Linked DNA regions of Homo sapiens: regions 1, 2 and 3 are each linked to region 4. Evidence: promoter capture Hi-C in human tissues and cell types (Jung and others, 2019). All regions are on one chromosome and are shown on one strand. The core of a region is centred on a gene start or on the middle of the fragment in contact, and the rest is flanking DNA. Distances in the headings are between cores, read along the strand shown.

Region 1 (6,829 bases), core at 811-3,310, 280 kb after region 4:
CTCCCAGCTAAAAGTCAGGCCACCTGCTCTCCAGAACCCAGGGTCCACGTTCTGAAGTCTTCACATTCTGGAATGTTCCTCTCTACTCTGCAGATGCGAATAAAATACCCCAAAACAGGTGAGCTGCCATGAGGGCGGCCATGGTTACTTTCCGAGGCATCGTGGGGGCACCTGCAGGAGTGAAGAGGAAGGGAGCAGGTGAGGCGGCTCGCAGCCACCCGATTCCCCTGCACAGTGAGTTTCTCATCTCTCTAAGTACCAGGGGATGTCTTGGCCAGGGAAGAAGATTCTGTTAGAAAGAGGAGACTTAGCCTCTGTCAGGGCTTTGGTGCTCACCTGTTCTGAAATGAGGCCCTGAGCACCCCAGGGTCAGGGCTGGGGCGGGGGCAAAGGGGAAAGGAAGGGAGTGGTGGCTGTGACGGTGACAGTGATGATATGTGGGAGGGCGTCTGGGTGCTTGGTCCTCCTCCAGCTTGATCTCAACAAAGGCATGGAGGGCTCATGGGGCTGGTGCGAGTTTTCACCCCATTTAACAGAAGAGGGCCCCTGACTCCACTTCTTGGTGATTTACCCACAGTCCACCCCTCACAGTCGGGGCCCAAGCCCAGGAAGAGGAGTGGTGGGGACGGGGCCAGGGTCTGCTGCCCTGCCAAGGCCGCAGCACGCCTGGGGCCACACCAAAACCTCCACCCCTGCATGGGGCTTCCTCCCTCTCAGGGAGGAGAAGGGAGCGTGCTGTCTCTGAACGGGAGGAGGCTGTTGGGTGCAGACCCCCAGAGCTCTGTCTCCCCACTGGACACACCCAGGCAGCATCTCCTGTGCCCTGTCAGCCCCCAGTCCCACACTGGCCCCTTCAGGGAAGCATCCTCAGGCATTTTAGGGAAGAGGAAGGTCTGTGGCTCAGAGCAGCCCCTGCTTCTCCCTGGGCCCCCGAGGGAGGGTCTGCAGGAACGGATGGCCGCCCAGGCCGGGTCCTATAAGCACCTCCAGTGACCAGGCATCTCTGAGAGCTGCCGGTGCCTGCAGGGGCCCTGGGTGCTGAGCCTGCCCGCCTCCTCCACGGTGTCCAGCGCGGGAGGTTGCCAGCGGCAGGAGCGGCAGGGAGGCTGGGCAACCTGAGCAGGAAGCAGCCGGCTGGAGCATTTCCTTTCATTAAATACCCGCCCAGCTCCCCTCCCGGGAAGGAGGCAGGTCACAGGCCGTCCCCGGGCCTCACCACTTCAGGAATGTACGCGGTGCCGGGGGAGCTGTGGTGCCGTCACCGGGAGGAAGACAGAAGCTGGCGTGGCGGAGGTGGGCGTCCCCTCCCATCTGGCAGAAGAGTCATCTTCTTGCAAAAGGCGGGGATGGAGCCCGCTGAGCTTCCTTTGAAAACGAGACAGATGACATTTCAATCTTCCATGGGGTCTGGAGGCCTCACCCCACCCCCGCCTCCCGCTCCACACGCCCGCCTGTGAGGTTCGGGGCGCGGCTCCCCTGGGGAGGGCTCCCTGTCACCTGTTCCTCCCATCTGAGAGCTCGCCAGAGGACTGTGGGTGGCAGCGGGTGCGGCAGATCCGGCGTGTGGGCGCCGACTGCTCCTGCCTCACTGCCACGGTGCCCTCGGTTACCACACAGCCTGCGCGGGGGCTGGTTTGCAGGAAGCCCCCAGAGAGTCCCCACCCGAATCCTCCTTTATTTTAAATCTGTGAAGCTCATGTCTGCAAAACGCACCCCCGATCCCCCAGCCTAAGCTCTGAAAATGCTGTGGGAGAAGGGGCTCTGCTTCGAGTCGGATGGGTGGAGGGACCCTGGCTGGGGCAGCTCCTGGTGGTCCCTGCTGGCTGGCTCGGGCCAGGCCTGCCAGGAGCTGGCTGAGACACCGTTACTGTGTCTGGGAAACGGGTGCCCTGGGCCCCCTGCATGGCGTGTCAGAGGGCAGCGGGACAGACAGCAGGAGAGGAGTCTGTGGCTGGAACCAGGCAGGTGGCGCCCAGAGCCAGCTGGAGAGGCCCACGGGAGGCGTGAAGGCTGCTGGGTGCCAGGGCAGTGCTGGGCCCAAGTCAAGAACCCCTGGACAGGGCTCAGACTCCAGATCAGGGTTCCAGGCCATGACCCTGGCAGGTCCTCACCTGCAGTGATGCCAGCCTCGCAGGACCCATGGGGGGAAAAGGGGAAGGGCATAGGTGCCCTCGGTGCCCACAGGAGGCCCTGGGAGCTCTGGAGCAGGCAGGAGGTGCACACCAGGTGCCACACAGTGGGAGCAGTTGGAAGCAGTGAACTAGATTTGGGGACTGCCTCCTGGGTAGGTGCAGGGCAGAAGGAATCCAGCGAGCAGCAGCGTGAGGGCCCCGGCCCAGCCCGTTTGTGCGGATGGCCAAGCACACCCAGCGTGGGGGTTCTCCAAGGCCCAAGGAGGTTCTTCTCTCTAAGGAGGACGGCAGGAAGGCCCGGAGGCCTGGGCAGCCGGTGCTGGTGGGGAAGCAGGCAGGGAGGAAACTGACAGGTGGCATAGGAGCCCAGGTAAACCACCTGGCCAGGACTGAGGAGGGAGGCCACGCAGCAAACTGCATCCAGATTTCAGAAAGAAAGAGGAAGGGGGAAAGAGGGAAAGCCAGCTGGTTCCACGGAGCAAGCCGGCACGGGCATTCGCTGGTTCCCAAGGGGCCGGATGGGAACCGAGTCGGATCACGTGCCTGCCCCTGGCATGTGGTAGAGGACAGGTGGAGGGACCCCAGGTGGGGCAGCTCCCGGTGGAGCAGCTTCTGGTGGTCCCTGCCGGCTCCACCCAGATCTTTCTAGAAACTGCTGCCTGAAGGGGACATTTCTCTTCCTGGGAGGAGGGAGAGTGGTGTCCACTACCCTGGGCCCTGGACTGTCCTTGGCCCTGAACCTGCCTCTCCTGCCCATGCCTCTCTCGGCTCACATGCTGCCTCCTCCTGGAAGCCCTCCTAAACTGGCCCAGACAGAACCCTCTGATGGTCTCCTTCAAGGCCATGGTCACTGTCAGTAATCACTGTGAGGGGTGGGACTGCGTGGGTCCCAGTTTCCCCATCCCCAGGCTGTTCCTCCGTGAGGTCACAACTGACCCTGGTGCCTCATGCCAGGCACACGGAGCTGCTCACCAGCCCCCATGACCAGCTGAGCTGCTTCAAGCCACTGAGGGGTGGATGGAGGCTGGGTTTTGGGCCAGAGTCTGGAGACGCACTAGTCATGTCCTGGCCCCTGGGCTGAGCTCAGGACAGGTCCCCTCGAGCTGCTGGAGCCAGCAGTCATGAGCCAGCAGTCATGAGCCAGCAGTCAGAGGCCGATGTGGGGTAGGGCTCTGTGGACCTGCAGGGATTCCCAAGAGCAGGGAGGCTCTTCCGGGGCAGCTCAGCCAGCAGGGGCCAGGCAGGTCCGGGCACTGTGGGCTCCCTGGGGCTTCTGAGAGCCTGGCCTGGGAGGGTGGCAGGGCCTTTGCCCCCTGGGGGTGCCCACACTTTGGCACACCTGCTGGTGCTTCCCTGGCCCTCCCTGATGCCCGCAGGCTCAGGGCCCTCAAATCAAGATGCACGAGGCTGGGACTCCATTTAACCTCAGACAACACCGAGGTGGGGCCGGTAGCTGCAGAGCTGAGGCTGCACCTGCCGCCCCCTGTGAGGGCCGCGTCCCGTCCCTGGGAAGTACCAGTTGGGAGGTCACTGAGCGCCGTGTCTCCCGACCCCAGGAAGGTTCCTGAGTTTGGGATGAATTCCTTCTCCCACCCAAGTTTCTTAGTGACCTTGACAAGTGGCCTGGACAGCTGGTTCTCCAGCCGCGGCCAGAGGAAGAAGTGCTGTCGGCCATGGGACCGGGGACAGGGACCCCAGTTCCCTGACCTCCAGCCAGGAGCCCCAGGCCCTGGCGATGCCATGTGCACAGCGCACTCCCCGTGGCCTCGGCTGGGTGATGACCTGGGTCTGGGTGGGAACCTCGCTTCTCGGCCATGTGGGTTAAACTCGGGGATCTCGGCCTGCTTTGGAAAATTGAAACCGTATTTTTGCTCCTGGAGCTCCCCAAACCATTTGCACCTGGACTCGGAAAGCTCATTTGGACACAGAAGCCGTTTCTCCCCAGGAGATTTGATTTTCCCTGGAATGCCAGCAGGAAAGTCGGTGGGAAGCCAGGTTGGGGGTGTGGGAGGGCAAGCAGAGCGGGGGTGCGGGGAACAGGTGCCCCCGGCTCTGTGCAGTGGCTGTGGGTCCTGGGCTCCTCACTCAGCCCATCTGGGTTGCTCCTCTCCTGAAGACCAGGCCGTGCAGAGCAGGTTTCACGGGGTGGACACACGTCCCAGCTCATCACATGGCGGGGGCTCCTCCTGGCCTGGAAGGAAGGACAGCAGTGCGGTCTCCATGACTGGGGAGAGGGAGCTGATGGCTCCATTTGGCGGGGGGGGGTGGCGGCCGGGAAAAGCCCCCGGGACCCTGACACTGGCAGCTGTCTAAAGTCCGTGAAATCCCAACCACTGCTGGCCACGGCATCCTGGGCCCCGACGTGCAGGCTGCCCAGTGGCGCCTCTAGGAAAAACTGCTGGGTGTGAGGGGCAGATATGGGGGCTGCGAAGTGAAGCCTGGAGGTTGCGGAGTATCCACTGGAGGATCAGCCTGTCGGGGTTAGGCCCAGGGGTCCCCAAGCTGAGGGATGTTCAGGGCTAAAGCCAGGAGAGTCCCAGGCAGACGTGTGGACGGTGGGTCTCCCCTGTTCAGCTCCCCAGGCGCTGGCCTTTCGGGTCTGGAGGTGCTGCCCCTCCCATTCAGTGGGGTAGGGCCCTGCCTCGGTGCCCCCGGGACACGGCAGCTATGAGCACCTGGCTGGAGTGCTGAGGGCCTCCCAGAGCTGGGGCCCAGGTGGCTTGGAGATGCCTCCTCAGCTCAGCATTTACCGCGGGGTAGGCAGCTCCAGATGCCTGGAGCTGAGGGCCTGGCTGCGGGGGTGTGGCAGTGCCACATGGCTGCCCAAGTAAAGTGCCATGAGCCGAGTGGTTTAGAAAACAAACCTGTCCTCTCACAGGTCTGCAGGCCAAAAGTCTGAGATCAAGGCTTGGGCAGGGCCACGCTCCCCAATGAGACTCCAGAGGAAGATCCTTCCTGCCTATTCCAGCTCCTGGTGGCTCCAGGTGTCCCTTGGCTTGTGGCCACATCGCTCCAACCTCTGTCCCGGCTTCACGCGGCTGTCTCCTCTGCATGTCTGTCTCCTCCTCTGCTTCTATGAGGACACTCATCGCTGGATTTAGGTCCCACCCAGATAACCCAGGATGACCCCACTGCAAGATCTTTTGATCAATTACATCTGCAAAGACTCCATTTCCCAACCAAGCCAGAGTCACAGATTCCCAGGGTCAGCTGTGGCCACCGTTCAGCCTGAAACATGCCGCGTCACCTCACCCAAGCCTCACATCGCCCCGTGAGGAAGCCACCGTGGAGGTGAAGTTCAAGTTCTCACCACCTGCCCTGTATGATTTCTCCTCCAGGGAACCCTGGGTGTCCACGGAGGGGCCGATGGCTGTCCCTGGCCCGTCATGGGGCCCCAGCTCTGACACCTGAGCTTCTGAATTCACTTGTTTAGTTTTTCAGGAACATTTTTTCCTTCGGTGCCTTTCCAGGGAGCCCCAGGGGTGGGGGCGTGGAGTTCTCCCCTGGGCCTCCGAGGGGCTTCTGCTGCCTGAGGGGTCCGTCCAAACTGTAGCTCAGATCCGCCGCTGCTGCCCTCCTGGCCCAGCGGAATGCTGGCACCTCCAGGAGCTCTTGGCAGTGAGCCACGTGGTGGACAGTCCCTTGCTCTGAGGGCCCTGTCACCTGGGCACAGTTCAGGGTCCCTTGGAACTGGAGATGTGGCAGGAGGGAGGCCCAGCCCCCTTCTGGGCTCCCTGAGGCTCCACTGAATCTTTGGAGGGGAGAGACGCTGGATTCCTGGTGGTGACCTGAGGGCTCACACAGGTAAACCAAGCAAGACCGTGGGTCTGTGGCACCCCACATCTGTGCACCTGTGCAACCGCAGTCTGATGTCCCTCCCCGGTGAAGGGACCCGCACATGTGCACCTGCCGCAGCCCCGATGTCCCTCCCCGGGTGAAGGAACCCACGGACGTGGCTCATCCATACCGCGGAACGTGAGCCATGAAAAGGGGCAGCCTCGGCTCAGCCACCGCAGGGAAGGACTCGACACACGCCGAGCAGAAGAGGCCAGGCCTGAGAGGCCACCTGCGATTCCATCTGCGGAAATGCCAGAAAGGGAGGTCCGCAGACGCAAGAGCTGGACTGGGGGGACGGCCGAGGGGCGAGGGGTTTCCTTCCGGATGAAATTGCCCCAGAACGACATGCAGGGCGTGGGGAGGTGGCTGCAAGATACTGCGGCCCCGCTGGATGCCACAGCACCCCATGCCGTGAACGGCTAATTCTACGCCATGTGGATCTCACCTCAATCAAACAATTGGAAGATTCCCAGCAGCTGAGATGACTCACGTTCGGGGGTGACTCATCCAGGCCACCGGCATCGCGTCGCTTAAAGACAAGCCTGACCTTTCCCCAGAAGCCTCAAGACCACAGTGGCCTCCCACGGCGGAGGGCAGTGCCCAGGGCTGGTGTTCATCCAGGGCACGGGACAGGCCTGAAGTGCAGACATTTCCTCTGCCAAGCAGTGGACGCAGGCTCGGCCCCCGCTGGCCAGGGGCGGCTCTAAGTTTGGAAAAACGAAAGTCCCGTGGCAGAGTGGGCCCCTGGGGTGGGATCCTGGAGCCAGGGCTGGGCCAAGGTGTGGGTTGAGAGACCCGGGGGCCTTCCCTGCAGCTGGCATGGAGTGATGGGGAGGGGGTGCTGGGTGGAGAGGGAGCTA
Region 2 (6,956 bases), core at 4,457-6,956, 510 kb after region 4:
GCCCACCTGCAGCCTCAGCTCCTCTTCCTGCCCTTTCCTACCTCTTGCTGCCCAGTACAAGACGCCTGTACCGCACAGGAGCAGTTAGGAGAGCCCCATCCTGGGGGTGCCCAGCTGGGCTGCTGATGTCCAGGGGTGGGGAGGTGGCCTCAGCCTCAGCTCTGTGCCCCTGGGGGCCATGGCATCTCTGCCCACAGAGCAGCGGGTACAGGCTTTCCCCGGGAGCCTCACAGGTCAGGAGTGAGACTAGGACGTCCACACCAGCGGCTTCCAGCCCCATCTCGAGGGTCAGGAGCCACCCAGGGGACCTGCCCAGTTTGGCCTCTCCAGTACCTGGATGGTGAGGGGTCTCCGAGCCCTGGCCACTGACAGGGCTCTCCCAGGGCCCCGCCCCTCACTTTGACTCTACGCCCCCACAGGAGGCTGTGCACACCGATTCCTTGGAAGGGAAGATTGACAGCCCTAGGGACACCCTGGATCCTGCAGAGCCTGGTGAGAAAACCCCGGTGAGGCCGGTGACCCAGGGGGGCTCCCTGCAGTCCCCACCACGCTCCCCACGGCCCGCCAGCGTCCGCACTCGTAAGCATACCTTCGGACAGCGCTGCGTCTCCAGCCGGCCGGCGGCCCCAGGCGGAGAGGAGGCCGAGGCCTCGGACCCAGCCGACGAGGAGGTCAGCCACATCACCAGCTCCGCCTGCCCCTGGCAGCCCACAGCCGAGCCCCATGGCCCCGAAGCCTCTCCGGTGGCCGGCGGCGAGCGGGACCTGCGCAGGCTCTACAGCGTGGATGCTCAGGGCTTCCTGGACAAGCCGGGCCGGGCAGACGAGCAGTGGCGGCCCTCGGCGGAGCTGGGCAGCGGGGAGCCTGGGGAGGCGAAGGCCTGGGGCCCTGAGGCCGAGCCCGCTCTGGGTGCGCGCAGAAAGAAGAAGATGAGCCCCCCCTGCATCTCGGTGGAACCCCCTGCGGAGGACGAGGGCTCTGCGCGGCCCTCCGCGGCAGAGGGCGGCAGCACCACACTGAGGCGCAGGACCCCGTCCTGTGAGGCCACGCCTCACAGGGACTCCCTGGAGCCCACAGAGGGCTCAGGCGCCGGGGGGGACCCTGCAGCCAAGGGGGAGCGCTGGGGCCAGGCCTCCTGCCGGGCTGAGCACCTGACCGTCCCCAGCTTTGCCTTTGAGCCGCTGGACCTCGGGGTCCCCAGTGGAGACCCTTTCTTGGACGGTAGCCACAGTGTGACCCCAGAATCCAGAGCTTCCTCTTCAGGGGCCATAGTGCCCCTGGAACCCCCAGAATCAGAGCCTCCCATGCCCGTCGGTGACCCCCCAGAGAAGAGGCGGGGGCTGTACCTCACAGTCCCCCAGTGTCCTCTGGAGAAACCAGGGTCCCCCTCAGCCACCCCTGCCCCAGGGGGTGGTGCAGATGACCCCGTGTAGCTCGGGGCTTGGTGCCGCCCACGGCTTTGGCCCTGGGGTCTGGGGGCCCCGCTGGGGTGGAGGCCCAGGCAGAACCCTGCATGGACCCTGACTTGGGTCCCGTCGTGAGCAGAAAGGCCCGGGGAGGATGACGGCCCAGGCCCTGGTTCTCTGCCCAGCGAAGCAGGAGTAGCTGCCGGGCCCCACGAGCCTCCGTCCGTTCTGGTTCGGGTTTCTCCGAGTTTTGCTACCAGCCGAGGCTGTGCGGGCAACTGGGTCAGCCTCCCGTCAGGAGAGAAGCCGCGTCTGTGGGACGAAGACCGGGCACCCGCCAGAGAGGGGAAGGTACCAGGTTGCGTCCTTTCAGGCCCCGCGTTGTTACAGGACACTCGCTGGGGGCCCTGTGCCCTTGCCGGCGGCAGGTTGCAGCCACCGCGGCCCAATGTCACCTTCACTCACAGTCTGAGTTCTTGTCCGCCTGTCACGCCCTCACCACCCTCCCCTTCCAGCCACCACCCTTTCCGTTCCGCTCGGGCCTTCCCAGAAGCGTCCTGTGACTCTGGGAGAGGTGACACCTCACTAAGGGGCCGACCCCATGGAGTAACGCGCCCGGCCCCGATGCGAATCAGGCCTCCCCTACATCTGGGGGCGTTGGCCGCGAGATTCCCATTGACACCTTTGTTTCGTGTGCTTTTAAATTCAGGTTAAATGTTGCAATAATCTGATGCAGAAGACTCAGCTTCTCAAGGGAGAGGGAGGGGGCGGAGCGGAATAAATAGTAACTTATTTAAGAAATGCACTTGGATTCCTGCCATCAGTCAGGGGCGGGGAAGGGAGTACCATCCGCAGATGGGTGCAGCAGGCACTTGGCCAGCAGGACACAGGAGACTAGCAGAAGGAAGAGGCCGGGGAGGAAGAAGCCAGCCAGGAGGGGGAGCCTGGGGTACCCAGACTCTGAGCCCCCTGATGCTGTGATGTGGCGGCGGATCCAGTTCACGTAGGCAGGGACACGAGTGTAGACTCCCGGCCTGTTGGGGCGGCCGCAGCCCTCACCCCAGCTCACAGTGCCAGCCTGCACCCAGGCACCGTTCACCTGGCAGACCAGAGGCCCCCCGGAGTCGTCCTGAGGACAGAGAAGGCGAGCATTGGGAGCCGAGAAGATGGGGAGCCCCTCCCTGGGCTTCAGCCGCCCCCATCCTCTGTCACGGCCTGGCAGGCTCACCTGGCAGGCATCCCCGGGGCCCCGGGCACACAGCATGTCGGGCTGAAGGATGCTGCCCCCGGGGCCGGGATAGTCCCGGCGGCAGGTCTCTGTGTCCACCACGGAGACTTTCACCTCCCGCAGGCTGTACGGGGGTGGCAGAGGCTCTGGGGTGGGGGGAACAGGCTTCAGAGAAGGTTGGGGCACCAGGCCCTGCACTGGGGGGATGGGAGACCTTGCCAGACACAAGTCCCATGCCACCACGACCCTCGTCACGGCACGTGGGTTGTGATCTGACGTTTGGCTGCTGCTTTGGATCCACACGACAGGCTTTGAAAAGGGACAGCCGATAGGGGCGGCCTTGGCTGGGTGTGGAAGCCACCAGGAGCAGGTGGTAGCATCAGCATCCCTCAAGCCAGCTCTCTTCCTGCCGCCCTTGCCTTCCTCCATCCCAGCATCCCCACGGGGGCTCCTCACCTCCCTCCCGCGTATAGCCCCAGCCGGTCACCCAGCACCGGATCCCAGGGCAGAAGTCATCTGAGGCCTCCGGGAGGCAGACGGGCAGGATCCGGCTGGAGAGGGTCACGGGGACACTGAGCTCCACCAGGGCGATGTCCCCGCTGGTCCCCGGCTGTCCTGAGGGGCTGGAGTGCAGGATGATCTGCCTCACGGTGGAGAAGTGGGGAGACAGAGTGATCTCCAGTTCCCCCAGGTGCACCTGGTAGTCGGATGAGTTCAGGGACCTGGGAGGGAAGGTGGCTGGGTGAGAGGGGCCAGCTGCGGAGGCTGGAGGTCAGTGTCGGCCCCGCCCAGACCCTACCCTTGCAGGCATCCGAAGCCCAGCTCTTCCCTCCTAGGCTTGGGACGCAGAAAGCCTGGGCAGTGGCCTCACCCTGCAGGGCCCAAGGACCACGGCAGCACCTTGGGGTTCCTGCCAGCCCCTGGAAAAGCCAGCAGCATGCCCGACACCAGCAGGGGCTGGTCAGGAGGCAGATTGCAAGCTCAGCTCCACGTGAAGAGACCGAGGGGAGGGAAGGAGGGAGGGAGCTGTCCATCCCTAGAGGTGAGCAAAGAGCTGCAGAACCTCACAGAAGGTGGGCAACCAGCTCCTCCCTTTCCATTGGAAGGAAGTAGGCTCAGAGTTCCCAAGCCTCGGAGTGAGTCAAGACCAAGTGGAGGCCTCTGCGCTGGCGCATGCCCCACTGGGGCCTGGACATTGAGACTGCCCCTGCCCACCCGGACACTCACCCGGAGAAGCAGTGGGCAGCTGTGAGCACCCACTGGGGGCTGAGCAGTGACCCGCCGCACACGTGCACCCTCCGCAGGCGGAGGCTGGCCTGCCATGGCCATGCGCCGGCCGGGGCAGCGTGACCCCCCACGATCCGGCCGCCTGCATCCGAAACCTGCGGCCGGCCACACCCTAAGTCGAAGGAGGAAGGGGTGCCTGGTGGGGATCCCAAGAAACCCACTGCACTTCCTCCATGAAGCCTTCCCTGACCACACCTCCCTGCCTTCTTGGGGACTTTGCTCTTCAGCTCTCTCGTCTGCCAGACTCTCCCCAGAAGCATCGTGGGTGCAGCAGAAATGACGTCTCAGGAGCAGTGAGCGCGCCTGGGGCTCAGGTCGTCCTTTCTAAGCACCATGCTCCACAAACTAACCAGGGCTCCCGGAGGCGGTGGAAAGGCTGCAGAGGGCCCCTAGGCGGCTAGAAAGGGGCTCAGAACGGTGGAGCCCCCGAGAAGGCCCGGGGTGCTGGGGGTGGCTGCCTAGTGGGCCCCGGTTTTCCTTCAGGGGTGGTGGAGATATTCGAAGCTGGATAAAATTCGGGGGGCGGGGGGCAGACAGCACTGTCCAAGGTGCTCGGGGCCTCTGAATTGGACGCTTGATAATGTAACTTTATCTTCTGTAAACTTCACCTCAGTAAGTTAAGAAGAAATTAAGAGGAAGTCAGCTGGAGACCCACTGGCCACACCTGGGTCTGCCTGAGCTGGATAATTGTGCTGGTGATGGAGTGTGGCCACTGGGCTGAATGGAAGGGAAGCTGGGATGTAGACAGACAGAGATGTTTATAGATAGGCAGCGGGTGTGGGGTGGGGCACCGGCTCTCCCACACGGCAAAGCCCCCAGCTGGTTCCAGGGCCACGGTGGGGACGCTGTGGGGAGAAAGTTCGAGGAGGGCCAGGTTGTTTCATGGCCTCAGAGCATCTCCCAAGGTACAGACTGACTACAGTGGTGGTGGGGGAGACAGCCCTGCAGCACACCCCGACCAGCCCCACTCAACCGAGAGATGCGAGCAGAAACCACGGCGACAAACTATGACCTCCCCGGGCCCCCATTGGGACCCCAGGGAAGGAGAGGGTCACCGAGGCCCTCCTGCCAGGCCTTGCCTGCACCCTCCCCCACACCCCACACCTGTCAGAGACGTACCTGGCTGCAAAGTCCTGAGGGACACACCTGTGGGAAAGACGAAGGGCCCAGGATGGAGGGGGCTGCCAAGGAGAGGGGTGTGCGGGCTCCAGAGGCCCCTGCCAGGCCTCAGGGCGGCACTGGGGTGGGGCCTGGTCCTGAGCAGAGGGGCCCGGCCTGGTGAGGCTGGGTCAACTGCTGTCTCACTGGCCCAGGGCTGGGTGGGACAAGCCACAGGCCATAAACGGCAGCTGGAGGCCGGGAGCTTGGCCTCAGGCCTGGGCCTCCTCCCCGCCCTCCAGGTCCTGCTCAGGAAAGAAATCACCAGTGTTCTAGGGCCTGGGACTCCTGGCACCCCCAACTCCCACCCGCACCCCCAACTACCACCCGCCCTGCCAACTCCTGCACCCCCAACTCCCACCCGCACATCCCTCCTGCCTCTCCCCAGCACGGACAGCTGGGCCTCCAGCCAGGGGTGCAGTCTCTTCAGAGGAGACACGGGGCCCCACAGGGTGGGGACTCAGCATGTTTCTCCGTCTCAGACCAGCCCCCAGTTTCACCCCCATCAGGGGTCCAGGCAGGAAGCAGATGCCCCCCCATCCCCACACCCAGGCCAGGTCACCCACCGGGCACAGCCAGGAGCAGCAGGAGGCCACAGGCCCCAAGGGCCATGGTGTCTGCCCACTGTAGGGAGAAGGAGGGCCAGCCTGACCCTTGGACCTGCTGGGCGTGGGGGATAGGGGTGGCCACACACCTGCTGTCAGGCAGGGCGGGAGGACGGAGGAGGAGGCCGGAGCTCCACAGACGGCCCCACCTGTTCCTTCTGCACCTCAGAGAAGGGTCGTCACCTCCATTTATCCCTGTGTGGACGCCACAGCCCTGGCACCAAGTGGCCGGCTCCGTCAAGGGAAAGCGGGGAAGGACAGAAGGCAAAAGTACTTCTCACCTTGTCTCTGCTCCGGGGCCAGGGCTGAGGGAGGGGTGAGTGTTCCTCTGAGTGCCGCCCCCTCCAAAAATTACTCCCTGGTTCCCTCGGGGCACGCCACCCCCTCTCCTTCATCCTCTGGGAGCCCAGTCCTGGGGGTTCTTCAGGAGGGTCCCAACTCAAGGCCCAGCAGCCCTTTGGAGACAGCTCAGGCCCTCGTGACAACCACTCTTTGAGAAGTCCCTGTCCCCACGTCCGGCAGCAGGTCCTGTGCTCGTGCGGCAGATCAGATGGGCACCACTTCACGGCCCAGCCTGGGTTGGCCCTTCCTAACCGTCCTGGCTGCCCCAGCCTGATGACTCAGCTGATTAGGGGCCCTGGGCAGCGCCCGGGACTTTCCTGCCGCCCTCCCCAGATCCAAATCACAGGCCAGGCTGGAGGGTCCAGCTGAGACCTTCTAGGTCAGGGATCCCCTCTTTGATGTGGGGAAACTCAGCCACGGGTTGGGGGGAGTTGCCTGACCACCCACCAGGATGTGGCCTCCCAGGCACAGACGTGGCCGCCTGCACGCCAGCACGTGGGGTAGCCAAGGCTCAGAACTGGAGGTTCAGTGTTTTTCCTGGTGACCAATAAGGACAACACCAGCATGCGGGGCCAGCAGTGCACCCACGGCCGGGCACCCTCCTCCCTCACGGCAGCCGCACACCTGGAGGGGGCGCCTCAGGGGAGGCAGGACAGTCCCACCCCACACAAGGGAGCGGGGTCTGAGCCACGAGTCCCCGGCCCAGGGTGCCCCTAACAGGGCGATGTCACCCAGTGGGGAGGGAGCCTGAGGGGCAGGGTCTTCATGGAACCAGGTCCTCTAGTCCTGACCTCTAGGGCTGTCCCCAGGTCCCCACAGGTGGGGACTTCAGGGCCCTCACCTGTCCCAACTCAATTCACCTGCAGCACTGGGGACCCCGTCTTTCTGCCTGTGCCCCAGCACGCCACTCCCCGCAGAGTGCTCCACACG
Region 3 (6,321 bases), core at 3,822-6,321, 320 kb before region 4:
AGCACACGTTCATTATCTTCCAGATTCTGTGGACAGGAGGCTGGGTGGGGCTTAGCAGGGAGCCTCTGAGTCAGAGGCTCTCACAGGCTGTGGTCAAGGTGTCAGCCACGCTGAGGTTACCCCAAGGCTTGACTAAGGGGGGATGTACTTGTTTTTTTTTCCAGACCGGGTCTCGCCCTGTTGCCCAGCCTGGAGTGCAGTTGAACAGTCTCAGCTCACTGTTCCCTCTGCTTCCCAAGTTCAAGCGATTCTAGTGCCTCAGCCTCCCGAGTAGCTGGGACTACAGGCGTGTCACATCCCACCAGGCTAATTTTTGTATTTTTGGTAGAGACGGGGTTTCATCATGTTGGCTGGGCTGGTCTCAAACTCCTGACCTCAAGTGATCTGCCCACCTTGGCCTAGCTAGGTGCTGGGATTACAGGTGTGAGCCACTGCACCACGCCCACTTTTTTTTTTTTTTTTTAAGAGATGGGATCTCGCTCTGTTGTCCAGCCTGGAGTGCAGTGGCACAATCACTGCTCACTGCAGCATCAACCTCCTGGGCTCCAGCAATCCTCCTGCCTCAGCCTCCTGCAGATTCACTTCTAAGCCCACCTATGTTGCTTTTGGCCAGAAACATCAGTTCCTTGTCATGGGGGCCTCCGCACAGGGCTGCTCACAACAGGGGAGCTGCTTCTCCCAGGAGGTGGCGGAGCAGCAGCAGCTGCAGTCTTTGGTGACCAGATTGTGAAAGTGACACTCCGTCTCTTTTGCTGTGTCAGAAGTCAGTCACCAGGCATGGTCCACACTCAAGGGGTAGGCATTACACAAGGAAATGAACTGGGTTTTGCTTTTCTTGTTGAGTTACGAGAGTTCTTTTTTGTTTTGTTTTGAGACAGGGTCTCATTCTGTTGCCCAGGCTGAGTGCAGTGGTGCGATCACAGCTCAATCCAGCCTGGACCTCTTGGGCTCAAGCAATCTTCCCACCTCAGCCTTCCCGGTAGCTGGAAATACAGGCGCACACCAACACGCCCCGCTAATTTTTTATTTTTTTGTAGAGACAGGTTTCACTATGTTTCCCAGGCTGGTCTCAAACTCCTGGCCTCAAGTGATCCTCCAACCTCTGCCTCCCACAGTGCTAAGAGTACAGGTGTGAACCATCCCATCACGCCTGGCCAAGAGAGTTATTTATTTATTTATTTATTGAGACAGAGTCTTGCTCTGTCTACCAGCCTGCAGTGCCATAACACAATCTCAGCTCACAGCAACCTCCGCCTCCCAGGGTCAAGCAATTCTCCTGCCTCAGCCTCCCAAGTAGCTCGGATTACAGGCACCTGCCACCAGGCCCGGCTAATTTTATATTTTTAGTAGAGACAGGGTTTCTCCATGTTGGTCAGGCTGGTCTCAAACTCCCAACCTCAGGTGATCCACCCGCCTCAGCCTCCCAAAGTGCTGCGATGACAGGCATGAGCCACCTCGTCCGGCCCAGCATAATTTTTTTTTTCTTTTTTTAAGATGGAGTCTTGTTCTGTCACCCAGGCTGGAGTGCAAGGGCACGATCTCAGCTCACTGCAACCTCTGCCTCCCGGGTTCAAGGGATTCTCCTGCCTCAGCCTCCCGAGTAGCTGGGATTACAGGTGCATGCCACCACACCCAGCTAATTTTTTGTATTTTTAGTATAGACAGGGTTTCGCCATGTCGGCCAGTCTGGTCTCGAACTCCTGACCTCAGGCGATACACCCACCGCAGCTTCCTAAAGTGCTGGGATGACAGGCGCGAGCCACTGCGCCCAGTCTCAGCATGTTTTTAATGTGCAAAATAAAATACAAGGAAATAAAAATATAAAAAACTATACTGAAATAAATTATCAAAATATTGTAGGCCAGGCCGGGCGCAGTGGCTCACACCTGTAATCCCAGCACTTTAGGAAGCTGCGGTGGGTGTATCGCCTGAGGTCAGGAGTTCGAGACCAGACTGGCCAACATGGCGAAACCCTGTCTATACTAAGAATACAAAAAATTAGCTGGGTGTGGTGGCGAGCACCTGTAATCCCAGCTACTCGGGAGGCTGAGGCAGGAGAATTGCTTGAACCCAGGAGGTGGGGGTTGCAGTGAGCTGAGATCATGCCCTTGCACTCCAGCCTGGGCAACAGAGTAAGACGATGTCTCACCAACAAACAAACAAAATATTTTAGGCAGCGGGGCGTGGTGGCTCACACCCGTAATCCCATCACTTTGGGAGGCCAAGGCGGGTTGATCACAAGGTCAAGAGATCGAGACCATCCTGGCCAACATGGTGAAACCCCATCTCTACTAAAAAACAAAAATTAGCCGGGTGTGGTGGCGCGTGCCTGTAATCTCAGCTACTCAGGAGGCTGAGGCAGGAGAATCGCTTGAATTGGGAGGCGGAGGTTGCAGTGAGCCAGGATTACACCACTGCACTCCAGCCTGGCAACAGAGTGAGACTCCATCTCAAAAACAAAAACAAAAACAAAAACAAAATATTTTAGGCCAAGTGCGGTGGCTCAGGCCTGTTTTCCTAGTTACTGGGGAGGCTGAGGCAGGAGGATCGCTTGAGGCTGGGAGGTGAAGGCTGCAGTTGAGCTATGACTGCACCACTGCACTCCAGCCCAGGTGACAGAACGAGACCCTGTTGCTAAAAAAACAAAAATAAAACATTAAAAAATGTACGATATAGTGGCCGGGCGCGGTGGCTCATGCCTGTAATCCCAGCACTTTGGGAGGCTGAGGCGGGCAGATCACAAGGTCAGGAGATCGAGACCATCCTGGCTAACATGGTGAAACCCCGTCTCTACTAAAAATACAAAAAAAAAAAAAAATTAGCCAGGCGTGGTGGCAGGCGCCTATAGTCCCAGCTGGAGGCTGAGGCAGGAGGATGGCGTGAACCCGGGAGGCGGAGCTTGCAGTGAGCCGAGATCGCGCCACTGCACTCCAACCTGGGTGACAGAGTGAGACTTCGTCTCAAAAAAAAAACAGAGTACGCTATAGTAATATCTGCTTTTTCCTTTTTGCAATAGCTTTATTGGGATACAATTGACATACTATACACTTCACTCATATATTTTTTGTTTATTTACTATTTTTTTTCAAGAGACAGGGTCTTGCTATATTGCCCTGGCTAGTCTCAAACTCCTGGGCTTATGTGATCCTCCTGCCTCAGCTTCCCAAATTGTTGGGATAATAGGCCTGAGCAAGAGTCCAGCCTCTAAAAAGAAAGAAAGTCACTTCTTTATACCATAGTACTGCAAATTCTAGTCAGAGCAACTAGACAAGAAAATAAAATAAAAGGCATTCAGATTGGAAAGAAAGAACTGAAACCGTCTCTATTCCCATATGACATGATGTTTTTTCTTTTCTTTTTTTTTTTTTTTTTGAGACAGAGTCTTGCTCTGTTGCCCAGGCTGGAGTGCAGTGGCATGCTCTCGGCTCATTGTGAGCTCCACCTCCTGGGTTCAAGCCATTCTCCTGCCTCAGCCTCCTGAGTAGCTGGGATTACAGGCATGCACCACCATGTCCAGCTAATTTTTGTATTTTTAGTAGAGACGGGGTTTCACCACGTTGACCAGGCTGGTCTTGAACTCCTGACCTCGTGATCCGCTCGCCTCGGGCTCCCAAAGTGCTGGGATTACAGACATGAGCCAGTGTGCCCCGCTCCATATGACACAATCTTATACAAAGAAATTCCCAAGGAATTAATTAAAAACTATTAGAACTAATAAATGCATTTGGAAGGCTTGCAGGATACAAGATCAATACACAAAGCTCAATTGTTGGCCAGGCGTGGTGGCTCACGCCTGTAATCCCAGCCCTTTGGGAGGCCAAGGCGGGTGGATCACCTGAGGCCACGAGTTTGAGACCAGCCTGGCCAACATGGCGAAACCCCGTCTCTACTAAAAATAAAAAAAAACACCAGCCAGGTGTGGTGGCAAGCTCCTGTAATTCCATCTACTCGGGAGCCTGAGGCAGGATAACTGCTTGAACCTGGGAGGCGGAGGCTGCAGTGAGCAGAGATATGCCATTATTGCACTCCAGCCTGGGCAACAAGAGCGACACTCTGTCTGAAAACAAACAAACCTCAATTGTCTGTTATACACTTGCAATGGACAATTCAAATAAGAAAACAATTCCATTCACAATAGCAGCAAAAAGAACAGGCTTTTTCAAGACTCATTAAGTAAGTTCTAGCAGTGGGAGACCTAACCATTTCAAATAGTAGCATGCTGTGCTATCTACCCAAATATTACCGTACCTGTGAATTCTGTTGGTGACAAAGTCACAGGCCCTGCAACTATGAATGTGGCTTCTTCCTTATATCCGCAATTGAATGAATTAGAGGAATGCAGTCACATCAGAGGCCATTTGAGAATAAAGGTCGGATTTTTCCCCATTCAAATTCACAGACCAGGCTCACATCTGTAATCCCAGCACCTTGGGAAGCCAAGGCAGGAGGATTTCTTGATCCCAGGAGTTTGAGACCAGCATGGGCAACATAGGGAGGCCCCATCTCTACAAAAAATTAAAATATTAGCTGGTTGTGGTGGCGCGGGTCTGTAGTCCCGCCTACTCGTCCTGGCCGCAGAGTCAGCGTCTCCGGAGCGCCTCCTTCTCCCGCCCTGGGGCTCACGTGGGAATTTCACCCTCCATTGGAGGGGGCTCAGACCAGGGCTTCTAGACCTCCTTTTGGTCCGTGAATTTATTTTTGAGACAGAGTCTTGCTCTATTGCTCAGGCTGGAGTGCAGCGGTGCAGTCACAGCTCACTGCAGCCTCAATCTCCTGGGCTCACGCGATCCTCCTGCCTCAGCCTCCCGAGTGGGCCTTCCTCCGTGGGAAAGCGTTAAAACGATAGTTAACGGTTGCGTCGGTGTAAAGACGAATGCAATTCGAGAAGGATTCATTATTATTTTGTTTTTTCTTCTGATTTTTAACAGAAATTGGCGTTGAACATTTCCCCCGTGAGCGCCGGGCCACGGGGGTCCGGGGCGGCGGGGGGCTCCGGGGCGGCGGGGGGCTCCCGGGCGGGCGGGGGCGGGTCTCGGGCTGGCACCGCCCTCCGCGCCCGCTCCTCGCGCTCACAGCGGCCCGCGGGCCGGGCGTCATGGGCGGCCTCTTCTGGCGCTCCGCGCTGCGGGGGCTGCGCTGCGGCCCGCGGGCCCCGGGCCCGAGCCTGCTAGTGCGCCACGGCTCGGGTGAGTGGGGCCGCGCGCCCCGGCGGGGACGCGGAGGGGAGGAAGGGGCGCGCGCCGCTCGGCCTTTGTGCGCGCACGTGCGGGCTGGGGTCCGACTCCCCCAGAGGCCTCGGGGCGCGGGCTGCGGGGTCCGTCCGAGTTGGGGAAGGCGCCGGCTCGCACCCGCACGCCCCTCCAGTGCCCGTCCGGCTCTGCGGCTCCTTCTCGCCTCCCCAGGCCCCAGGCTGCAGGCGCCCGGCGAGTTGGCAGCCTGGGCGGGTCCGGGGCGACCGAGGGCCCGGGAGCGCAAGGAAGGCAGAGGCCGGCTGCAGCACTGGGCGGGGAGGGGGTCTCCCGGCCGGGGTGGGGGTGGGGGTGTGGGGGGGTGAGGGAGTCGGGGGGTGGGGGTGGGGGTGTGGGGGGGTGAGGGAGTCGGGGGGTGGGGGTGGGGGGAGCCGCTCCGCTGGGGCGTTCGCTGAAGGCCAAGTTAGGCCAGAATCTGACTGGGACGTCAGGCCCCAAGTCCCCGGCCCCGCCGCTGCCCGGCCCCCCCAGCTGCCACCTCACAGGACGATCCATGTCCCAGGGCTCCCTCCATCGGCTCTGAAAAGTGAGCCGCCGCCTGCAATGCCCGCACCAGCCGCAGCAGAGCCCCAGGCTACACAAGGCGCCCTGCAAACTGGGTTTTGGGGGAACAAACCAACCAGGGGGTCTTCCTCCCGTGGGCTTCAGCCGCCTGCTGGGGTTAACTTTTCCTCCTGGCCTGGCGGAGCCCCTTTGGCTCTGTCCAGATTCTGTGGGACATACAGGGTCTGGGCTCCTCTGGAAACCAGGGACCCGATGCCGGAGGGTAGCTTGGCTCTGGAGCAGCCTGGGACTATAGGAAGGTGAGGACGTCTTCTGTTTCCCTGGCAGCGTCCCCTCCAGAGGAGGACGGCTGGGGCGGAGCTCAGCGCTGACCCTGGGTCTGGAAGCGACAGGCCTTGAAACTCCACAGCAGCACAGGCCCCGTCTCCTGGCTCGGACAGAACCCTGCTACCTTCCCTCTTCAATCTTCAGGCCCCTTTTTGTCCGTGTTTCCAGGGCTCACCTGGTGGGGAAAGTGTGTTTCTCCCTGGTTCCCTGCCACTCATTCACCTCAGACACAGGGTGGGCT
Region 4 (6,420 bases), core at 3,101-5,600:
CTGCTATTCTGTGCCCGGCACTGTGGTGTCCCCAGCGGGTTGTTCGGCACTCCGTGGCGCAGCCACCTGTCCGCAGCCGCTCCCCTGCGGGACGTGGGCTGCCTGTGCCACGCACTGCTGGGGCCCAGCTCATGGCAAATGCAGCACTGGTGTCCTCCACGGGCCGGAACCTGTGTCTGGGGGGAGAACGCAGTGGCCGAAGGTGGGAACCATGTGGCAGTGACCAGGGTCTCGACCGCCCCCACCCCAGCACCCCCTCAGGCTGCAGCTCCAAGGGCCCTCTGGGCAAGACAGGAACAGAAACCAAGTCTCAGGCTTCGGGACAAGCTGTGAGGCTGGCCGCCCTGCCTTGGGCTGAGGGGCCTTGTGATATGGCGTCTGTGTTTGGCCACGGCCAGGCTGACCCGCAGGCGGGAGAGATGATTGTCCCAGACTCTGCACTCTCCAGGGGTGGCCTCACGCGCTAGGCCCAAGGTTTCTGAAACAAAGCCTCAGGGAAGTTCTTCCTTTTGTCTGACTTGAGTATGTCTTGCTGCTGTCGCGTTCTGACTTGGGTGGAAATGGAGAGAGGCCCCTTCTGGGGTTTCAGGGCACTCAAGGGTCTGGGGCTTGGGGCACTTGAGGGGGCCCCCAAACAGCACAGACAGCCACGGCATCACCTAAGCTTGGGGATGCCTTCCAGGCACTCCTCCGCCCAGCCACCCCCCACTTAGTCTGCTGGTATTTACTGAGCACCAGCACCCTGGCAAGTCGGGTCCTGTACCCATAGCAACTGAGGACAGACTCGGCCTTCCAGGCCCCTCCTGTAGGCAGCACAGCACTCACTGATGCCAGGTGCTTTCCTGGGTGGGGCCGGGGGCTGTGAGGAAAAGGGGTGTGTGTCCAGGGCTTCTCCTGTGGGTGGCTGCATTGGCACCGGATCCCCGGAGATGAGGCTGGGGAGGAGGCAGGGACGCCCGGGGTTGAGGCGTCAACTCGGGGCCAGGCATGTGCCATTCCAGACCAGGTCACCCCAGGAACCCCTCCCTCCAACCACAGACACTGGCCCCTCTCTGGAGGAGGCCTGGGGAGAAGTCCGGGGCCCAGGCTGTCAGGAGGGTGTCTGGGGCTGACCCTCACGCCGCCACCAGAGGGCGCCTGGAGCCCACCGTGCTGACCCGGGGACCGCCAAGCGGCAGCAGCCCTGGACGGCTGGGTGGCTGCAGCGGCCGACCCGTGTGCCTCTCCCCACCTCTGCGAGCACCTCATGTGCTCAGCCCCAGGCCGAGTCTACCCTTTAACCTTTACGATTTTTATATTTTATTTATTTATTTTTTAATTTTTATTGAGACAGGGTCTCTTCTGTCGCCCTGGTTGGAGTGCAGTGGTGCAATCACAGCTCACTGCAGCCTCACCCTCCTGGGCTTAAGCAATCCTCCTGCCACAGCCTCCCAAAGTGCTAAGACTACATGCATGAGCTGCTGCACCCAGCTAATTTTTGTAGTTTTAGTGGAGTTGGGGTTTCAACATGTTGGCCAGGCTGGTCTTGAACTCCTGATGTCAAGCGATCATCCTGCCTCAGCCTCCCAAAGTGCTGAGATTACAGGCAGGAGCTGCCACACCCGGCCTTAATTTTTATGTAATTAATTAATTAATTTTTATGAGACAGACTCTCACTCTGTCACCCAGGCTGGAGTGCAGTGGCCTGATCTCAGCTCACTGCAACCTCCACCTCCCGGGTTCAAGCGGTTCTCCTGTCTCAGCCTCCCAAGTAGCTAGGACTGCAGGCGTGCGCCACCACGTCCAGCTAATTTTTGTATTTTTAGTAGAGATGGGGTTTCACCATGTTGGCCAGGCTGGTCTCGAACTCCCGACCTTGTGATCTCCCTGCCTTGGCCTCCCAAACTGCTGAAATTACAGGTGGGAGCCGCTGCGCCTTGACAATTTTTATTTTTAATTGTAAGATATACATCATAACATCTACCATTTTACCCATTTTAAAGTGTGCAGTTCCGTACTGTTGAGTACATTTGTGTTGTGTAATCAAGCTCCTGAATTCTGTCCCCATTAAGCTCCAATCCCTCATTCCCCTCCCCAGCCCCTGCTCCACTTTCTGTCCTCATGACCGTGACTACTCTAAGGTGACTCACAGAAGTGGAATCCAACAGTGTTTGTCCTTTTGTCTCTGGCTTATTTTGCTCAGCGCATAAGCCTCCAGGCTCATCCAGGCTGTAGCGGGTGTCAAGGGACCAGAACTTCATTCCTTTTTATGGCTTAATAATGGACCCACCGCCAGGGGGTGCCGTGGCTCATGCCTGTAATCCCAACACTTTGGGAGGCTGAGGTGGGCGGATCACCTGAGGTCGGGAGTTCAAGACCAGCCTGACCAGCATGGAGAAACCTCGTCTCTACTAAAAATACAAAATTAGCCGGCATGATGGCACATGCCTGTAATCCCAGCTGCTCGGGAGGCTGACGCAGGAGAATCGCTTGAACCCAGGAGGTGGAGGTTGCAGTGAGCCAAGATCGCGCCATTGCACTCCAGACTGGGCAAAGAGCGAAACTCCATCTCAAAAAAAAAAAAAAAAAAAAAAAAAAAAAAGAGGCCGGGCGCGGTGGCTCACATCTGTAATCCCAGCACTTTGGGAGGCCAAGGCGGGCAGATCACGAGGTCAGGAGATCGAGACCATCCTGGCTAACACGGTGAAACACCCTCTCTACTAAAAAAAGAAAAAATACAAAAATTTAGCCGGGTGTGGTGGCGGGCGCCTGTAGTCTCAGCTGCTCGGGAGGCTGAGGCAGGAGAATGGCATGAACCCAGGAGGCAGAGGTTGCAGTGAGCCGAGATCGAGCCACTGCACTCCAGCCTGGGCGACAGAACGAGATTCCGTCTCAAAAAAAAAAAAAAAAATGGACCCACTGCACTTGCTTGTCCACTCAGCTGCAGACAGGCCTTTGGGAGTCTTCCACCTTTTGGGGATTGTGATGGCTACTTCTGACCTGCACCTCGCCCAGAGCAAGGGGCTGGCCGAGCCCAGTAGGCGCCTTGTTCCTGTTTGGCCTGGGAGGGCCCTGGGGTTGAGGGAGGGCCTGGTCAGTGGGATCCAGCCTCCCACTGCCACTGAGCCATCTGGCCTCATCTGTCCGACTGCCACTGGTGAACTCATCTGTCCACCATGAGTTTCGAGCGCCGGGTGGCAGGAGGTTTGGGGGCAGGGGACGGAATGTTCACATCTTCAGGCTGCACAGTCTATGCTGGTCCTTGCAGTCCCCGGCTAAAGCTTCTGTCGTCCGTAAGGGGTTCAGTATGTAGTGGGACCCCTTTGCTTGTGCCTTAGGCCTTCTGTGATCTGACCTGTCGTCCCCACCCACCACCCATGCCCTGGGGTTTCACTGGGCTGCCAAGAGCTCCTTCCTCAGGCCCTTGACCCAGGCTGTCTGCTCTCCCCCATTCTCTTCCTGTCCACCTGGCCAGCCACTGCCCACTTCCTCCCATCAGGCCAACTCAGCAGTCCCGGATGCTGGGAATCCCACACTGCTCCAGCCTGAGGCTACAGTGTGTTTGCGAATCGCCTGTTTCTGCTTGTTTCATCTTGGTGGGGGCTGCTCCTGTGGCCCAGGGGTGTCCTCCCAGCTCCTGTGTCTCCACGTGCTGCAGGCCTGCAGGGGTGCCCGTGGCTGCTCCATTCACGCCCCTCCAGGAGCCCCGTCTGGCCCGGGGTCGGTCATCCGGCAACTATGGGGTGCCGCTAGGTCTGAGGAAAGGGGCCTAAGCCTGCGGGCTGCGCGCTCTTCAGCAGGACCCCCTCCTGCAGACGGCCTTACCAAAACCCGAGGCCTGGCCCCGCTCCAAGGCGCAGCCCCCAGGCCAGGCCTTCCCCGCCTCTGGAGTCATGACCCCTCTCCTCTGGGGCTCCACCGGCCTCTGGTCAGCAGGACCGGACCTGGTTGGGAGGGATGTGGCCAACAGGCCCAGGTCCCAGTGTTAGGAAGGAGCAGGCCCGGCCGCCCGCGAGGCGGAACCACCAGGTGGGCCACCTTCCCTACCGCCACCCCGAGGTTCCAGTGGACATCAAAACCTCGGCTCCATCAGAGGCTCCAGGACTCCGATCGGGACAGCGCGGGGGGCGAGGCCAGGGTGAGGGCGCGGCGAAGGAGAGACGCACAGCGCGGGGCGGGCAAGGAGCCTCCCTTCCGCGCCAAGGCCCCCCCCAACCCTCGAGGCGCTTGGACCGTGGGATAGTCCTCCGGCGGCGCCCGAGCTCCGGCCCCGCCCCCGCTCCGCCCCGCGCCTGCTATTGGCGGAAAGTTCCGGGCCGCGCCGCGACTGGCCGACACGCCGCAGGCCCCGCCCCCTTCCCGACCCGCTCCAAGGCGGCCCCGGCGCTGGGGCTGCGCGGCAGGCGGAGCGGCCGCGGGCTTGGGGGCTTCGCCGGGGCCGGGCGGCCGGCGCCCCCGGCTGCTCCCGCCGCCGCCCGGACCCGCGCCCCGCCGGGGCAGCGGTGGTGAGAGCCCCGACTCCCCGGACGCCGCCCGCCGTGCCATGGGGTTCCCGGCCGCGGCGCTGCTCTGCGCGCTGTGCTGCGGCCTCCTGGCCCCGGCTGCCCGCGCCGGCTACTCCGAGGAGCGCTGCAGCTGGAGGGGCAGGTACGGTCCGGGGGGCTGTCCCCGCACTTAGGACGGGGTGCGCTGCGGCTAGGACCCCCCAGGCGCCCCTCGGAGCGCGCAGAGCGCTGGGCCGGTTTCCCCATCCGCGAGGCGGCCTCGGGAGGGAGCGGGGGCTGCGCCGGGCGGGGACCCGCCCCCGTCTCAGCGCCCCGTCCCGTCCTGTCCCCAGCGGCCTCACCCAGGAGCCCGGCAGCGTGGGGCAGCTGGCCCTGGCCTGTGCGGAGGGCGCGGTTGAGTGGCTGTACCCGGCTGGGGCGCTGCGCCTGACCCTGGGCGGCCCCGATCCCAGAGCGCGGCCCGGCATCGCCTGTCTGCGGCCGGTGCGGCCCTTCGCGGGCGCCCAGGTCTTCGCGGAGCGCGCAGGGGGCGCCCTGGAGCTGCTGCTGGCCGAGGGCCCGGGCCCGGCAGGGGGCCGCTGCGTGCGCTGGGGTCCCCGCGAGCGCCGGGCCCTCTTCCTGCAGGCCACGCCGCACCAGGACATCAGCCGCCGCGTGGCCGCCTTCCGCTTTGAGCTGCGCGAGGACGGGCGCCCCGAGCTGCCCCCGCAGGCCCACGGTCTCGGCGTAGACGGTGAGTGGCGGTCTGGTTGGGACAGGGTGGGAGTCCCGAAGTCTTACCCTGCCTGGGCTTGGCGGGAATGTGCCTTGTCGGCCCCACTGCAGAAGGAAAAAGTGAGCTACAAGGGTTGGATGGGCTTGTCAGGCCACACAGCCTGGGACTGCTGGGGAGGGATGGCCTCCCCGCCCTCCCTTCCCGATTCATCTCTGGAAAGAGCTGGCAGGGGCAGAGTGGAGGGAAGGGGAGGCCGGGCCCAGCAATCCTGGGCCTCTGGTCCCTGAACGGTTGGGGGAAGAGATGGTGGGGACAGAATCGAAGCCTCCGGCCAAAGCTGTCCGGGGCTCCCTGGCCCAGCGGTGACCTCTCTCCCCTCCCCCAGCCCAACCAACAAAAGTCCAGTGTGCAGCCCGGTCACCATGGAGACGCCGCTCGCCTCCCTGCAGGGCACCAGGCCCAGCTCTTGCTTGGCTCTCCTGGAGCTTGGCGCCTGACCCTGAAAGGGATGGGCTCTCGCTATTCTGCCCCCTGGCCCTGGGCCAGGGACCCCAGACCACCCTTCCTCTGCCCCCACTTCCTATCACCCTAGCTGGGCTGCTGCTCTTCAGACCTCAGATCCGGGAAACTAGAGGGGTCCCAGATGCTGGGGTGCATATGTCAGATGGGAGTGCAGGAGGGCGGCCCAGGACAGCTGATCGCTAGGCATGGCCCCCAGGCCCACGTCTGTGTGCATTCCTGCCTTGGAGGTACGCGCCTGCAAGTGTGTTTCCTGAGTACAGGTGTCGCCGAGGGCGTGCACATCTGCTGTGTAGCTCTCTGGGACCCCCAGGTGCCATCAGGCCCTGAGCGTGGGCTCTGCTCATTTGCCTGCTGCCTCCTGCCGCTTGTGCGGACAAGGGACGGGGCCTGGGGTGATGCCGGGAGAGGGCAGGGCCTCTCCTCACCACCCCCTCTGCATGCCAGGTGCCTGCAGGCCCTGCAGCGACGCTGAGCTGCTCCTGGCCGCATGCACCAGCGACTTCGGTGAGTGTCCCCGCCATGGGGGGAGCCTGGAGCCTGCCTTCCCCTGAATGCCTACCGCAGCCACATGCCTCCCCACAGTAATTCACGGGATCATCCATGGGGTCACCCATGACGTGGAGCTGCAGGAGTCTGTCATCACTGTGGTGGCCGCCCGTGTCCTCCGCCAGACACCGCCGCTGTTCCAGGCGGGGCGAT

What was found. The method cuts DNA at HindIII sites, captures the fragments that hold promoters and counts their contacts. A contact is called where the count stands out against the background at its distance.
Region 1: a fragment that was not itself captured here is called in contact with the fragment with the promoter of METRN in region 4 in 1 of the 25 tissues and cell types used here (dorsolateral prefrontal cortex).
Region 2: the fragment with the promoter of TPSG1 here is called in contact with the fragment with the promoter of METRN in region 4 in 2 of the 25 tissues and cell types used here (lymphoblastoid cells and spleen).
Region 3: a contact is called between the fragment with the promoter of NME4 here and the fragment with the promoter of METRN in region 4, in 2 of the 25 tissues and cell types used here (dorsolateral prefrontal cortex and spleen).

What each region holds. Positions count from the first base shown.
Region 1 is chr16:996,446-1,003,274 of GRCh38, forward strand. No RefSeq gene overlaps it. Among named protein-coding and RNA genes, the nearest start is that of SOX8, 18 kb to the left of the region's middle. RefSeq lists an enhancer at 5,457-6,113. The HindIII fragment of the contact is 5,735 bases long and covers 1-4,928 here.
Region 2 is chr16:1,219,562-1,226,517 of GRCh38, forward strand. TPSG1 (tryptase gamma 1) reads right to left here and starts at 5,707. Exons shown (of 6, transcript NM_012467.4): 1 at 5,646-5,707; 2 at 5,041-5,067; 3 at 3,862-4,033; 4 at 3,091-3,356; 5 at 2,635-2,780; 6 at 2,090-2,535. The coding sequence starts at 5,691. The coding sequence ends at 2,227. LOC124903621 reads left to right here and starts at 5,690. Exons shown (of 2, transcript XM_047434997.1): 1 at 5,690-6,000; 2 at 6,893-6,956. The coding sequence starts at 5,690. CACNA1H (calcium voltage-gated channel subunit alpha1 H) reads left to right here. Exons shown (of 35, transcript NM_021098.3): 35 at 420-2,207. The coding sequence ends at 1,433. RefSeq lists a silencer at 4,559-4,745. The HindIII fragment of the contact is 15,330 bases long and covers 1-6,956 here.
Region 3 is chr16:392,128-398,448 of GRCh38, forward strand. NME4 (NME/NM23 nucleoside diphosphate kinase 4) reads left to right here and starts at 5,072. Exons shown (of 5, transcript NM_005009.3): 1 at 5,072-5,186. The coding sequence starts at 5,096. It overlaps LOC100134368 (a long non-coding RNA gene), which reads left to right. Exons shown (of 3, transcript NR_024453.2): 3 at 1-833. RefSeq lists an enhancer at 4,663-4,712 and silencers at 5,003-5,492, 5,633-5,702. The HindIII fragment of the contact is 12,085 bases long and covers 1-6,321 here.
Region 4 is chr16:710,768-717,187 of GRCh38, forward strand. It overlaps METRN (meteorin, glial cell differentiation regulator), which reads left to right and starts at 4,351. Exons shown (of 4, transcript NM_024042.4): 1 at 4,351-4,626; 2 at 4,817-5,217; 3 at 6,166-6,225; 4 at 6,304-6,420. The coding sequence starts at 4,523. RefSeq lists silencers at 1,093-1,222, 4,110-4,419, 4,520-4,949, 5,050-5,109 and enhancers at 3,367-3,965, 4,564-5,161, 5,162-5,759, 5,760-6,357. The HindIII fragment of the contact is 3,141 bases long and covers 1,963-5,103 here.